4 separate regions of the Homo sapiens genome follow, and all the other regions are linked to region 2. The links are contacts of gene promoters, found by promoter capture Hi-C in blood cells and fetal thymus (Javierre and others, 2016). All regions are on one chromosome and are shown on one strand. The core of a region is centred on a gene start or on the middle of the fragment in contact, and the rest is flanking DNA. Distances in the headings are between cores, read along the strand shown.

Region 1 (3,077 bases), core at 67-2,566, 500 kb before region 2:
CCTGACTGGGCTTCCCAAAGTGCTAGGATTACAAGCTTGAGCCACTGTGCCCAGCCCAATATTTAGAATATAAAAAGAACTCTCTAATTTCAATAATAGAAAACAGAAACCAGCAAAAGACCTGAACAGATATCAAAGAGCATATATGGCAAATAAACGCATGGAAAGATGTTCAACATTATTAGTCAATAAGGAAACAAGTTAAAAACAATGAAATAACTCTACACACTTACCAAAATGGCTAAAATAAAATATACTGACCAAAAAATGATGGTGAAGATGTAGTGACCAGATCATGGGTATATTGCTGGTGAAAATTCAAAATGGTGCAGCCACTTTAGAAAACTGGCAGTTTGTTAAAAAAGCTAAACATGCAACTACCCTATGACCTTGCCATTGTACTCCTAGGCATTTATCACAGAGAAATGGATACTTTACCTTCACACAAAAACCTGGATGAGAGTGTTCATAGTAGCTTTATTCATAATAGCCCAAACTAGAAACAACTTATATGAACTTCCATGGATGAACAGTAAGGTGGTCCATGGATACTATGGAACACTACTTAGCAATAAAAAGAAACAAACTTCTCTTGATACACACAACTTGGATGAATCTTTAGAGAATTAAGCTGAGTGGAAAAAGCCTATCTTAAAAGATTGAATGCTCTATGATCCATTTGCATAATATTCTTGAAATGACAAAATCATAAATATGGAGAACATATTAGTTATTGCCAGGAGTTATGGACAGGATGGTAGTGGGGAGGAATTAGTGGGTGTGACCTTTTAGGGCAACATGAGAAATCCTTGTGGTGTGGAAAATGTATATTGTATACAAAATGTGTATTGTATAATGTGTGACACAATGGTATTATATCAATAATGGAGCAGAATTGTAACCATTCTGTATCTTAACTGTGTCAATATCAGCAATGGTATTGCACTATAGTTTTCCTATAGTTTTATGGGATGTTGAGGATACACAGGCTCTGTCTGTTTCTTATAACTGCATGTGAATTTAAATTATTTTAAAATAAAAAATTAAAATGCAATGCATCTTCTGCCTGGCTTTTTCTCTTGCCTCTCGTTTATTTGGAAACTAACTTCTGTGTTGTGAGAATGCCCATCAATCACATGGACAGGCCATGTGTAGGTACTTGGGCTGATAGCCCTAGTTGAGTGCCCAGATAACAGCCAGTATCAAGCAGTAGACTTATGAATGAGCAAACCTACAGATGATTCCAGCCACCTGCTTTCCTGAGAGCTCCCTTGAGCTAATGCTGTGTGTAGCAAAGACCAGCTGTCCTTGGAAGCCCTCCCCAAAGTGCAGATGTGTTTGAAAAATAAACGCTTGCTGCTGTTTTTAGCCACCAGTTTTAGGGTGCTTTATTACATAATAATAGGTAATTGAAAAAAAAAAGGGCTTTGTCTATGAACATTCCACAGAAAAAGAAGAGAAGCGGCTTTTTCACTGAATCTTTGTGTTAGACAATGACGACCTTTTTTGAAGTATCATCAAATTGTACCTTTGAACAGTTCAAAACTGGCTTCATAGTCTCAATTAGTGAGGTTTTATTATAGCCATCATATGTTCAAATTAAAAATTTGGCATATCATTTGGTTAAAGATTTTTATGCCACTTATGAGTACAGGAGACAATTTGGGAGATATAGTTTGGATACTAAAATGGAATGTCGGCCAGGCACGGTGGCTCATGCCTGTAATCCCAGCACTTTGGGAGGCCAAGGCGGGCGGATCACCTGAGTCCGGAGTTCGAGACCAGCCTGGCCAACATGGTGAAACCCCATCTCTACTAAAACTACAAAAATTAGCCGGGCCTGGTCACAGGCACCTGTAATCCTAGCTACTGGGGAGGCTGAGGCAGGAGAATCGCTTGAACCTGGGAGGAGGAGGTTGCAGTGAGCCGAGATCATGCCATTGCACTCCAGCCTAGGGGACAAGAGCAAGATTTTGTCTCAAAAAATAAATAAATAAATAAAATGGAATTTCTGAGATTTTCAGGGTTTATGGTACAGATTATTTGAAATTAGGATTGTGTTAGAAGATCTAAGAAATGTATATACATATATAATAATTATTTATACATAATTATAAATTATTATTTCTAATTGGGTCATGATAAACTATAAATTATCATGGATTATTAAAATACAAATATTTTACATCTATAATTTACTATTAATGTCAAGTCATACACACACAAACACGAGGGGACTTCCAAAAGTTTGTGAAAAATAAAATTAAAAAACAAAATAAAAAATGTACACTTTATTTCTCAACATAAGCACCATCAAGTTCAAGATATTTTGTAGGTGATGATATGAATCATTTAGTCCATCACTAAAGAACTGAGTGTCCTGGGACCCTAACCATATCAATGCAGTTTTACTTTACTATAGAAAAACAGATGCTCTTTAAAAAATTTTTTAAGATTAGGAAACAAAAAGAAGTCAGAGGAGCCAAATCAGGACTGTACAGCAGATTAAAAGATTTTCCATCAAATTGCTCACAAAAGTGCGTTTGTTTGATGAGAGGAATGAGCATGAACATTGCCATGGTGGAGAACGACTCTGGTGAAGCTTTCCCAGGTATTTTATCCTAAAGCTGTTGCTAATTTTTGCAAAATACTCTCATATTAGGCAGATGTTATTGTTCTCTGGCCCTCCAGAAAGTCAGTAAGTAAAATGCCTTGAGCATCTCCAAAAAATTGTTGCCATGGTCTCTGCTTTTGACCAGTGCACTTTTGCTTTGACTGGACCACTTCTACCTCTTGATAGCCATTGCTTTGGTTGTTCCTTGTCATCAGGATTATACTGGTAATGTTTCATCTCCTGTTACAATTCTTCAAAGAAATGTTTCATGATCCTGATCCCACCCATTTAAAATCTCTATTGAAAGGCCTGCTCTTGTCTGTGGCCAACCTGGGTGCAATGGTTTTGGCACCTATCAAGGAATGGAAAGTTTAATTTCTTTGTCAGAATTGTGTAAGCTGAACCAGTTGACATATCTATGGTGTAGGCTATTGTTTTGACTGCTAATCCTTGATCCTCTTCA
Region 2 (2,900 bases), core at 331-2,830:
AGGCCTAAACTCTAGTGATGAAACAGAAAATTAGGTCTTCAACCACAATAAAATGAACTCTGGAAAAGCTGTGGTATGACAAGTTCAAGTTCTGGCTCCATTCCTACAATCAGTGTGAACATGGGCAACTCAGAAAATTTCTAATTAATTCATCAAATACCTTTTAAGGACCTATTGCGTCTAAGGTTCTGTGCTAGGCTGTAAGGCTCAATGTCTTACATTGTAATGCAGGGACAATACCAACTATGGCAGAGAGTTGTGATGATCAAAGTGGGCAAAGATTACAGATTATCGAACAAAGGCTAGAGGCCACCACATCCTAGGTGTGTTCTATTTTCCCCCTTTACTTCAATCTTACTCAACTGATTTATTCTCCAAGTTTTCCTTTTGGTTTGGTCTTAGATCATTCCTATCAAGTATACCTGTCCTCAATTTTCAAAAATTCAGAATCAGAATTCCATATTCTATCAGTAGGTACGTTTGTGATACACCTTGCCTGGCTACCTCTTAGCTACCCTGTTTACAATGGAAAGATTAGGTCAAAGGGCGTTCTTCTTACCCCAGAGCCCTTCCAAACTCATGCCAATAGGCATGCCACTGCCTCCTTATCAGAGGCAACTTCCAGCAGTACTCCCTTCCAAATCACAAATATCTACTTTACCAAATCGCTGCTTTTTTAAATTAAAAATTCTTAAGGATCATTTACATCAGTTCTTTCATGCTACAAATTCAGAAAGTTTACGTCCAGAGATTAGGAGTCACTCAAGGTCACACAGTGAGTTGGTGACAGGGTCAGTACTGTCTGCTGCTATTGCTACATTCCCGGCACCTTCTCCAAACCCGCGTCTCCCAGCACTAGCCCAGAAGGAACTTCTGCAGGACACGCCCCCCTCCCAACTCGGAGCCCTCTTTAGTAAACGGGCTGGGGCCCTAATCCAACGGCAAGCCCAGGCCCCCTTCACCTGAAGGTAGCCTGTGTGAATGGGATGTGTGTCAGTGTAATTCGAGTGGAGGTGGGTGGGGGGTGGTTCCGGGTCCAGGGCGGGAAACGCGGCTCTGGGAATTCCCGGGTGACACCTACTTAAGAAAAGCACCCGGGGAGATGCAGTGCTCTACCCTCCGTGGCTCCTCTAGGGGTGGGGGCGGGGGTGTGGTCTGGTTACAGCACTTAACGGGCCCTCCCCACCCCAAAACGGAGGCCAACTTTCCCCAGCGGCAACTAATGGGACTGTCTCGACCCATGAAGCCAGCTCCCAGCCCTAGGATTAGACCCGCGACCCCAGACCAGTCGCGTCCAGCTAAGTCCTGCGACTCCCCCAGCCCGCCCCCTGCCCCGCAGGAACACAGGACCGGCGCGCGGAGAGAGAGTGAGGGAGAGGGGCGCGGGAGGGAGGGAGGGGTCACTTCCGGTCGCAACAGCTCACCTCGTAGCGGAACATTCTTGGGGAGGGGGGCAGGGAGCGGGGAGGGGAGAGGGGGAGGGAGGGAAGAAGCGCTGACTCCCCGGCTCCTCCGCGCGCGGGTCCTCCACCGGCTCGCGACCCCTGGCCGCCGCCGTACGCCGGAGCGTGCGTGGGGACGTGCGCAGGCGCGCCTCAGGCAGGGCGGCCACCCCGCTCGGCGCCCGGCGGCGGCGGCTGCGCAGGGACAGATTTGGCGTCCCGCTTCCTAGTCTCAGCGGCGGGAAGGAGGTCCCGTGGCGAGAGACTGCGCACGCGCTGCCCGTCTTCGGCTGCCTGGTGATCTGGGCTTGTAGCTCCGCCCCCTCTTTCTCCGCGCCCTCTAGGCGCTCGGCTTGGAGCTCAGGGGCCGGTCACGAGTTCTCCGTCACCCGTGGGGCGGAGAAAACCCTTGTGATTGTCACAGGATATAGCTTTGAAGAATCCTGCGCTTAGCCTGGGCTGGGAAAGATGAGATTCCCGGGCAGTTTTTCCAACGTCCGACTCACTCCTCAGGCTGCTCGGGGGTCTCCCCGTTGCAATCTGCGCCTTGCGCAGGGAAAAAAGAATGGAAAGTTGCTGGTCTTCGAAAGGGGCGGACTTCGTCGCCACTTTCAGCGGCTCGTCGCCTGCTGAATCCACAGCAGGTCAGGGCTGTGATTTATGTGGCTCAAAGTGATGACGGCGCCCGTTTTTTTTTTTTTTTTTTTTGAAATGCTGAAGACAGGTTCCGGGAGGTTTAACTAGGGTGGTATTTTTAAGCGCCAGGCTCATTAGGCGCGAGGAGCTGCAGAGCCTCGAAGGGCCGCACGGCCGTGGGCCGCTGGCCACGCAGCAGCAGGGTCTTCGGGCCGTGGTGCGCCGCTGGGTGACTCCACTTCCTTAGAGGATCGAACCCACAGAGGAATGTGTCCAGCTTAGAAGCTTCGGCCCCCTGGTTCCAGAATTCTGTTGGGTGGTTTGTTACCTCTAGCACGCTCCATGCCCTTCTTGCCCCTTTCCTTTCAGACAAAACTTGCAGCACAAAGAATGAATTCTTTTGGGTTTCGCAATCCGTTTCTTCCCTGGGCGTCTTAAAATGCAGCCTCGTCTCGGAATGGCATACAGTAAATCCCCTAAATGTTAGTGTGTCTGGATCAGTTTGAGTATCGGAAACGCTGAATTTGTGAAGAAAAGTTCTGGGTGGGAGCTTGTGCTTTGCCACTGGCTAGGAAACTTTGGGCAACTTACCTAAACCTCTCTGAGCCTTAGTTTCTTGTAAAATGGGTATAATTACACCTGCCTCATGATGGTAACACTACTAACGATTGAAGGCTGCCTGGGACTCTGCTAGGCGCTTTATAAAATGGATTATCTCATTGAATCCTTCCTTATGTGCCCCCCATGAGGTAGGTACTGTTATTTTCTCAGTTTACAGTTGAGGAACCTGAGGATTAGCGACATTGTTTGCCTCCAACCACC
Region 3 (3,317 bases), core at 66-2,565, 460 kb before region 2:
CGGGGAGTAGCCAGAGGGGCAGGAGAAATCACCAGTGAGTGGATTCTTCTGCTCCAACTTTTGGCAGAGGAGGACATCCCTATTCCCTGAGAGCTGAGTGCATTCCTGATAAACCCCACCGAAAGAGAAGTTGGTCATTTTCCCCTCGCAGGAGCCATCATCCGTGTTGGCCTGAAAATTGAAGTTGGGAGAATTGAGATCTGTGCAGCCAGGGTAGGTGTTGAATGTATAATAGCGCTTCACAGCAGTTTCCACTGTCTTTGACACCTTCTTCACCAGGGGGCCTGGCAAGTCAGGTAGCATGTTGGGGTTGATGAAGAAATGCAGCGGCAGGCCAGAGCGGTCGATGGCCACCAGGTGGTTGGTGATACCCTGCTGCCAGGCCTGGAGGGTGATGCCTGGGTAAAAAGGAACCCCTCCAATGCTCTGCACCCTGGAGTTGGTTCGGTTTGAGAGGTAGCTCTTGGTGAGGACATTCTGCGAGGTATAGTTTTCCTCAAATTTGAAGTTCACGGTGTTTTGAAAGGCAAGTCCAGCAGAGGCGGTCACGGCACTACGACTGCTCTGGCTGTCTTGGAGGAAGGAGGCCCTGAGGTGGTCCTCCTGAATAAGAGCAGCCCCAGCGTCGACACTGGTGGTGACGTGGGTGCCATAGTTGAGCACCAGGAGTTCTGCCAGGTAGGTGGCCATCCTCGTCTGGTTGTTCTCTAGACGGTCAGAGATGTCAAGGAGTTCCTTCCTAAAACCTGAGCTTAGCTCTAAAGTTGGGTTGATTTTGACTGTGTAGACGAGGTTTCTTACCTGAACTCGGGTAGTTATAGCTTGGTCCTTCACTTGGAGGGTCTTCATCCTCTGGAACTCAGTGGAAAACTTGCCATTGACTTTGGAAAAAAGAGAGAGTTCTGTGTTGATGGAGTAGGAGGTGCTACTCTGGTAATTTGCCCAGGATTCCAGGATTTCTGAGTTCATCTCCAGGTTGCTCTGTTTCTGGGGAATGGTGAAGATTTCATCAGGGATGATATACTGTCCATCCTCTGTTGTCCTGCAGTTGGAGTAAGTCAATTCCATAACTCGTCCCATGTCCACATTCCGCAGATTGTCCCAGCCCCCTCCAGGTAGGACTTCCAGGACAGGTAGTTTCAAGGCATTCTTGCATTTTTGAACTCCAACTTCGTCCATCTCTCCCGAAGGCTTGCCTGATTTAGCCCATGCTGCCGCTGCCCAGAAGAGGATGGTGGCCCTGAAGTTGTTCATGGCTCAGACAGCCCCAGCCACTCACCAGCCCTACACAGCGGCCAGCAAGCTTTGGGCAAACTAAGATGGAGAAAACAGAAGCAGATGATGAAGCGGAAAACTCATGAGTTCTCTAAAAGCTACAAGTTCCTCTTTAAGCTAATTTAATGACAAAATGGGGAAACGAGAGTTGGTTGGAATATTAAAGACCATCAGGTCTTTGAAGAATTTATGCCGTACTAAACATGCAAACACACCCCTACATGCCTAACAGGTAGCTATCCTAATTTTTCCCCCAGCTCTGGCTGGTTACTCTGCTGCAGGGGTGTGCACTTAGAAAAAAATCCCGACCCCACACCCTACTGCTTCCTCCACCAGAAAGTTTGGCTTTGCTTTTTGCTCATTCTCTTGGACTTGATGTTTCATATTTTCCCTGACTGCTGTCTCTTGGGACTCCATTATCAGTTTTCTTTTACTATAAATGCAGAGGCAAATGACCACACCACCCTTACTGAAACACCCTGGCTCCACCATACCTATGCAAGCTGTTAGTCAAGGCCAACCCTGGGTTTCCTCTTTGCCTGAGGGTGGAGGCTGTTTCCACAAAAGAAAGGAGTGAAACTCTTGGACACTTGTCCTGTGGGTTTCACTGTTATGAACCATAGCAATTCTGTCTTTGGGGATGGCATTGTCTGGAGCACAGCTGACAGGGCCTGAAGAGGATTCGGTTGCAATATGCTGGGAAACCCCAATTTGCATTGTCCTAAGCATTCAAAGCGAGGGCAAGGAACTCCTACACTGTGTTGTTTTCATTCAGATAGAAATGTTCAAGACAAAACCACACTATTATCTAGATTTTGATTTATCAACAGCAGACAGGGGCCAAGGAACATATGTGTATGTGTACACACATTTATATATCCTCTGTGTGTGTGCATTTTGTATGAAGTTGGTACCTGTTATACCTTTAATTTTTTGTTCCATTGCTAAGTGTGTGTAATCAGTTTAGGTGGATAAAAAAGAATGTGGCTCTTCACTACCCAATATTTTTTCTAAAAGCAAAAATTCATTTGCTATATCATTAGAAGAATATAATTACATGAGTTTCTTTTCAAGTTCCAATGCCAGCTCTATTAGAGCCCATAATTTAAAACAATGGTGACAGGTTTGATTGAAACCCAACTCTGTTAATTCTTTGGGACAATTAGGCTATGTCTTAGTATGCTTAGTGGTAGCCAGGGAATCCAGAGGACTTAGTGAAGCTCCCAGTTGCATCCTTAACATTCCCAAGATTATACCATGAACTAGATACAGTACTGAGACTGAAAAAGTCATGTTGCAATTCACAGGTATCACTACACCATCACCTGTATGCATCCTGGAAGGAAGGTTCCAAGGAGTTGAATTCCTCTGTTGGTTATTAATGCAGCAAAGAAGTGTTTTTAGAAAGAATGAGGCTAGTTATCTTGCTTCCCAGGCTGGGCTTCACCAGTTATTATCAAAACCATGATGGTGTTCTATAAATCTAGAAATACTGCATTCCGGGTATATTTTTTTTTCCAAGACAGGGTCTTGCTTATTGCCCAGGCTTGAGTGCAGTAGCTATTCACAGGCATGGTCCCACTACTAATCAGCATAGGAGTTTTGACCTGCTCCATTTCCAACCTGGACCCGTTTAGCCCTCCTTAGGCAACCTGGTGATTTGCTCCAAGGAGGCCACCATATTGATGCTGAGCTTAGTGCAGACACCCAACTGGCATAGCACACTACAGCCCAGAACTCATGGATTCAAGCAATCCTCCCACATCAGCTTCCCAGGAATCTGGGACTGCAGTCATGCACCACCACACCTGGCCATTCTGGTTCTATTTGTGCCACAGTTATCATGCTTCTGGGAAGTGACACCAGCCACCTAAGAGGGATTAATTTATGAACCAGTGCCTAGTCTGTATTTGGCTAAAGAACCAAATCTTTGCACAGGATGTTCTAGTTAATTTATAAATCAGTTAGCCATAAATTTATACCTCAGCAGCATGATCCCAGAATTAGAAAAATGAGAGTTGAATGCCCTTGAGTACTTCCAA
Region 4 (3,157 bases), core at 374-2,873, 480 kb before region 2:
GGAGGTCTGAGCAGTACAGTTTCAAAAGGGCTATAGAAACAAGTTGTTTTCTTTTTTTTCTCTCTACTCTGTTTTCCTGATGAGGGAGGCCCCTGCCTACTCCTCTCGATCTTCCAGCCCTTTGCTTTTCACCTCTTACCACCTCCCTCACCCCCAATCCCATCTTCTCCTCCAGCCTTTCTTGGCCATTTAATTAGCGTGTTTATTCCCTTTGTCTGGCATTGCCATCGACCTTCTGTCATTGCAGGGCCCCTTTCCCCCTCCTCTCTCTGCCCATGACCTCTTCCAGCAACTTTCCCACGGAAAAAGGAAGACCAGGGAGGGCGGGAGGAGTGGGATGAAGAGAAAGGTTTGGGGGCAGGAACAAAAGATCCTGTGAATTATTCAGAGACAGAAGCAGGGGTTTTCTAAAGGGAAGCAAGAAGGGGGCTGTGCAGTGGAGGCAAGCGTCACCCCTCTAGCCCCCTCCTCTAGAGCTGAGGATTCTCTGTCTCCAGCTAGGCCTCAGTTGCCGTAGAGACAAGATCCTTGTCCTGCTGGAGGATTCCTGGACTGGTGCATAACTCCGAGAAAAACACTGCTTCTCATCATGGTGACTGCAGAGATATACTCCCTCCCTCAAAACTCCTTTCTCTGCCACCTTGCCAGCTCTCTTCTCTTGTCTTAGTTTTATGTTTTAGCGACAGAAACAAAAGACCCTCCATATCAGGGAACAGGCCAACTGAATGGGGGCAGGGGGTGTCTTATGATTGGCCAAGCAGTGGTTAGGACAGACAGTTTTGGCTGATGGAGTTGCCTGAAGGATGTGAGATGCATGCCTGCCATTGGGTTGCAGTTTTCTAGGAGAGCTCAGGCTTTTGAAGCTGAGGCCCCAAAAGGGTGTGACCAGCTGGGACTTCATGGGCTGTTCTCCAAGGTTTAACCAGTAATAGTGGGGGAGGTGAGATCAACCGTCTCAAGTACTGCCCAGCACTCAACTTTATGCTGGATACCCATGACCTCGAGAATCAGAAAATTGGAATATTAGAGCAGAAAACGTCTTTATTCAGCCCAATGCCCCTTTTATACTTGGGAGGTAAAAGCATAAACAGTCACCCAAACTTGCACAGGGCTCAGCTGTTTACAGTTAGTTGACCTAGTTCCTAAATCCTCACAGGGACCCCATGGGGCAGACATTTAGGATGCCCTGTTCACGGCTGTGGTAACTTAGATATGGTCAACAGAACGCAGAGAGGCTGTGCGGCTCTCCCAAAGGCAAAGCAGGTCAGTGCTGAGCGGGGCTAAAACAAAGACTCCCTGACTCCAGTGCAGAGCTCCTTCCATTACACGGTTCTGGATTTCACAAGCAAATATACCCCTTCTCCCCAGACCCCTCCTTCCCAGAGCCCAGTGACAAGCCTACCCGCCATGTCATTCCTCTCCTCAAGTGGCAGGGACATGTATCTCTCCCACCTGTTGAACCCATAGTCTTCTTGTGTGTCCCAGGTCCACATGCGGGCCCTTCCCTCCCTCTCTCCACATCTTGCCCCTGAGTTCTTGAGCTGCCTGAAATGTGTGGTGTTCTGGGGATTGGATTATTTCCTGGTTGGCCAGATTGGGTGTGGAAACCTGCCAGTCCAGTTTATGGGAACAAAGGTGGCTTTTGTCACCCAGATCACAGCTACTTATCAGCTGGAGTGGGGGCTCTGAAGATGGCGAGGGAGAAGGTAGGTGCAGGTCTGGGTTCTGAGTGCTGCCCCCTGCTGGGGAGCTGGGAGCAGGACACAGGAAGCCGGGTCTTTTCCCCAAACCTCTCCAGAAAGAGCTGGGCGAGGAGAATCGGCCATAAGTGGAGGACTCAGGGCTTGGGTGGCCATTTTTTTCTCAGATATTGGTGGGAAGTTGTCAGCCAGTTTCCGTAGCGTCTTCTAACCCAAGACCCTCACAGTTTTACAGATGGGGAAATTGAGGCTCAGAAAAGTTAACTACCTTAGCGAGAAACTCCTGGCAGGGATGGGACTTGCACCTGATTTTCCTGACTGCCCATCCACCATACCATGCCTGGCCCTGGGGAGCAGGTCACAGAGTCCAGAAACAAGTCCATTCTTCTTTTCTTGGCCCAGTGGCCCTTGTTTTGTATTCAGCTTTCTCCTCCATCCTCCCATCCTGGTTTGATTTATCCTGGGGACAGTTTCAGAAGAAAAGCGGCTTTGGGTGGCCTGGTGAGACACAAACATTCCCATTCCCACATCTGTTCTTTCACATCCATCTCCCAGCATTGGTGCACATGTCATCATCCCTGGGAAGGGACAGAGCCCCAGGCAGGCTCAAAGTAGGTTAGAGCTGGGGAAGAACCTTCCTTACAGGCATGAGGGGCAGAGACAGACCCCACTGCTTGGCATGGAGGTCCCGTTGCAGCTTTCCCCATTCCTAGTGGTGGGTTTATTCATTACGCTCTCTGAGTTTCTGGTCTATGTTTGCAGTGTGGGATGTTATAAGGATTACGTAAACACAAGAGCCTGGCATAGTAAATGGGCTCTGGTGCCAGATTTTCTGGCTTAGCTGTGTGATCTTACCAAGTTTCCTTAACCTCTCTGTGCCTCAATGTAGTTGTCTCTAAAATGGTGTTAATGACTGCACCTCTTGCATAGGATGTTGGAAGGATCAGACAGGTTTATATGCTGTGAGCAGTTGGAGCCACTGTTGGGGGGAGGTGAGCTCTGTGCATGTTGGTAACTGTAACATGTGAGTGAAGAAGGGCCATGAGCCATGTGTTCACTGCTGACCCCCAGCATCGGGAATAGCAAACAACACAAAGTAGGGCTCAATAAACACTTTTTGGATGGATAAATCAATACATAAATATTCTTTTTTTCCTCCTCTTGCTTTCCCAGCACCATCCTGCCCCCACAGCAGAGCTGTTGGCTTTGCAGGCTGTCTGCCTCCTGGAGTCATCTGTGACCGGGTCCATTAGCCTCTCCAAGCCCAGCTGCAGGAGTGTGGGTGACAGAGAGGATGGCGCAAGACCCAGACCCATGTGTCCCATATTTTCCAAGTCAGCGCTGTGGGAGGGCCGCGCCTTTCCCAGGCAGCTGTGCCATCTCCTCTCCAGCCTGGCTGGAGTTGCTGGGGAGAAGGACAGAAAGGGGAGGAGGCTTTGCCTAATATTTATATATGT

What was found. Contacts are between HindIII fragments. The CHiCAGO score rates a contact against its expected background, and 5 or more counts as called.
Region 1: a contact is called between a fragment that was not itself captured here and the fragment with the promoter of PATL1 in region 2, in 3 of 17 cell types (total CD8 T cells, activated CD4 T cells and fetal thymus). The highest score is 5.6, in total CD8 T cells.
Region 3: the fragment with the promoter of MPEG1 here is called in contact with the fragment with the promoter of PATL1 in region 2 in 1 of 17 cell types (M1 macrophages); the score reaches 5.2 in M1 macrophages.
Region 4: a contact is called between a fragment that was not itself captured here and the fragment with the promoter of PATL1 in region 2, in 3 of 17 cell types (M2 macrophages, M0 macrophages and non-activated CD4 T cells). The highest score is 7.0, in M2 macrophages.

The regions. Positions count from the first base shown.
Region 1 is chr11:59,166,757-59,169,833 of GRCh38, forward strand. No RefSeq gene overlaps it. Among named protein-coding and RNA genes, the nearest start is that of DTX4, 3.8 kb to the right of the region's middle. The HindIII fragment of the contact is 2,567 bases long and covers 34-2,600 here.
Region 2 is chr11:59,667,457-59,670,356 of GRCh38, forward strand. PATL1 (PAT1 homolog 1, processing body mRNA decay factor) reads right to left here and starts at 1,581. Exons shown (of 19, transcript NM_152716.3): 1 at 1,425-1,581. The coding sequence starts at 1,439. It overlaps PATL1-DT (PATL1 divergent transcript), which reads left to right and starts at 1,854. Exons shown (of 4, transcript NR_187296.1): 1 at 1,854-2,086. RefSeq lists a silencer at 1,311-1,660 and enhancers at 1,620-1,914, 1,841-2,130. The HindIII fragment of the contact is 2,400 bases long and covers 1-2,361 here.
Region 3 is chr11:59,211,612-59,214,928 of GRCh38, forward strand. MPEG1 (macrophage expressed 1) reads right to left here and starts at 1,316. Exons shown (of 1, transcript NM_001039396.2): 1 at 1-1,316. The coding sequence starts at 1,254. It also overlaps the pseudogene RN7SL42P. RefSeq lists an enhancer at 1,293-1,492. The HindIII fragment of the contact is 5,135 bases long and covers 1,302-3,317 here.
Region 4 is chr11:59,184,722-59,187,878 of GRCh38, forward strand. All of the region lies in intron 2 of DTX4 (deltex E3 ubiquitin ligase 4), which reads left to right. LOC124902675 (a long non-coding RNA gene) reads right to left here. Exons shown (of 4, transcript XR_007062682.1): 2 at 1,969-2,160. Among named protein-coding and RNA genes, the nearest start is that of DTX4, 14 kb to the left of the region's middle. RefSeq lists a silencer at 1,714-1,803. The HindIII fragment of the contact is 7,574 bases long and covers 1-3,157 here.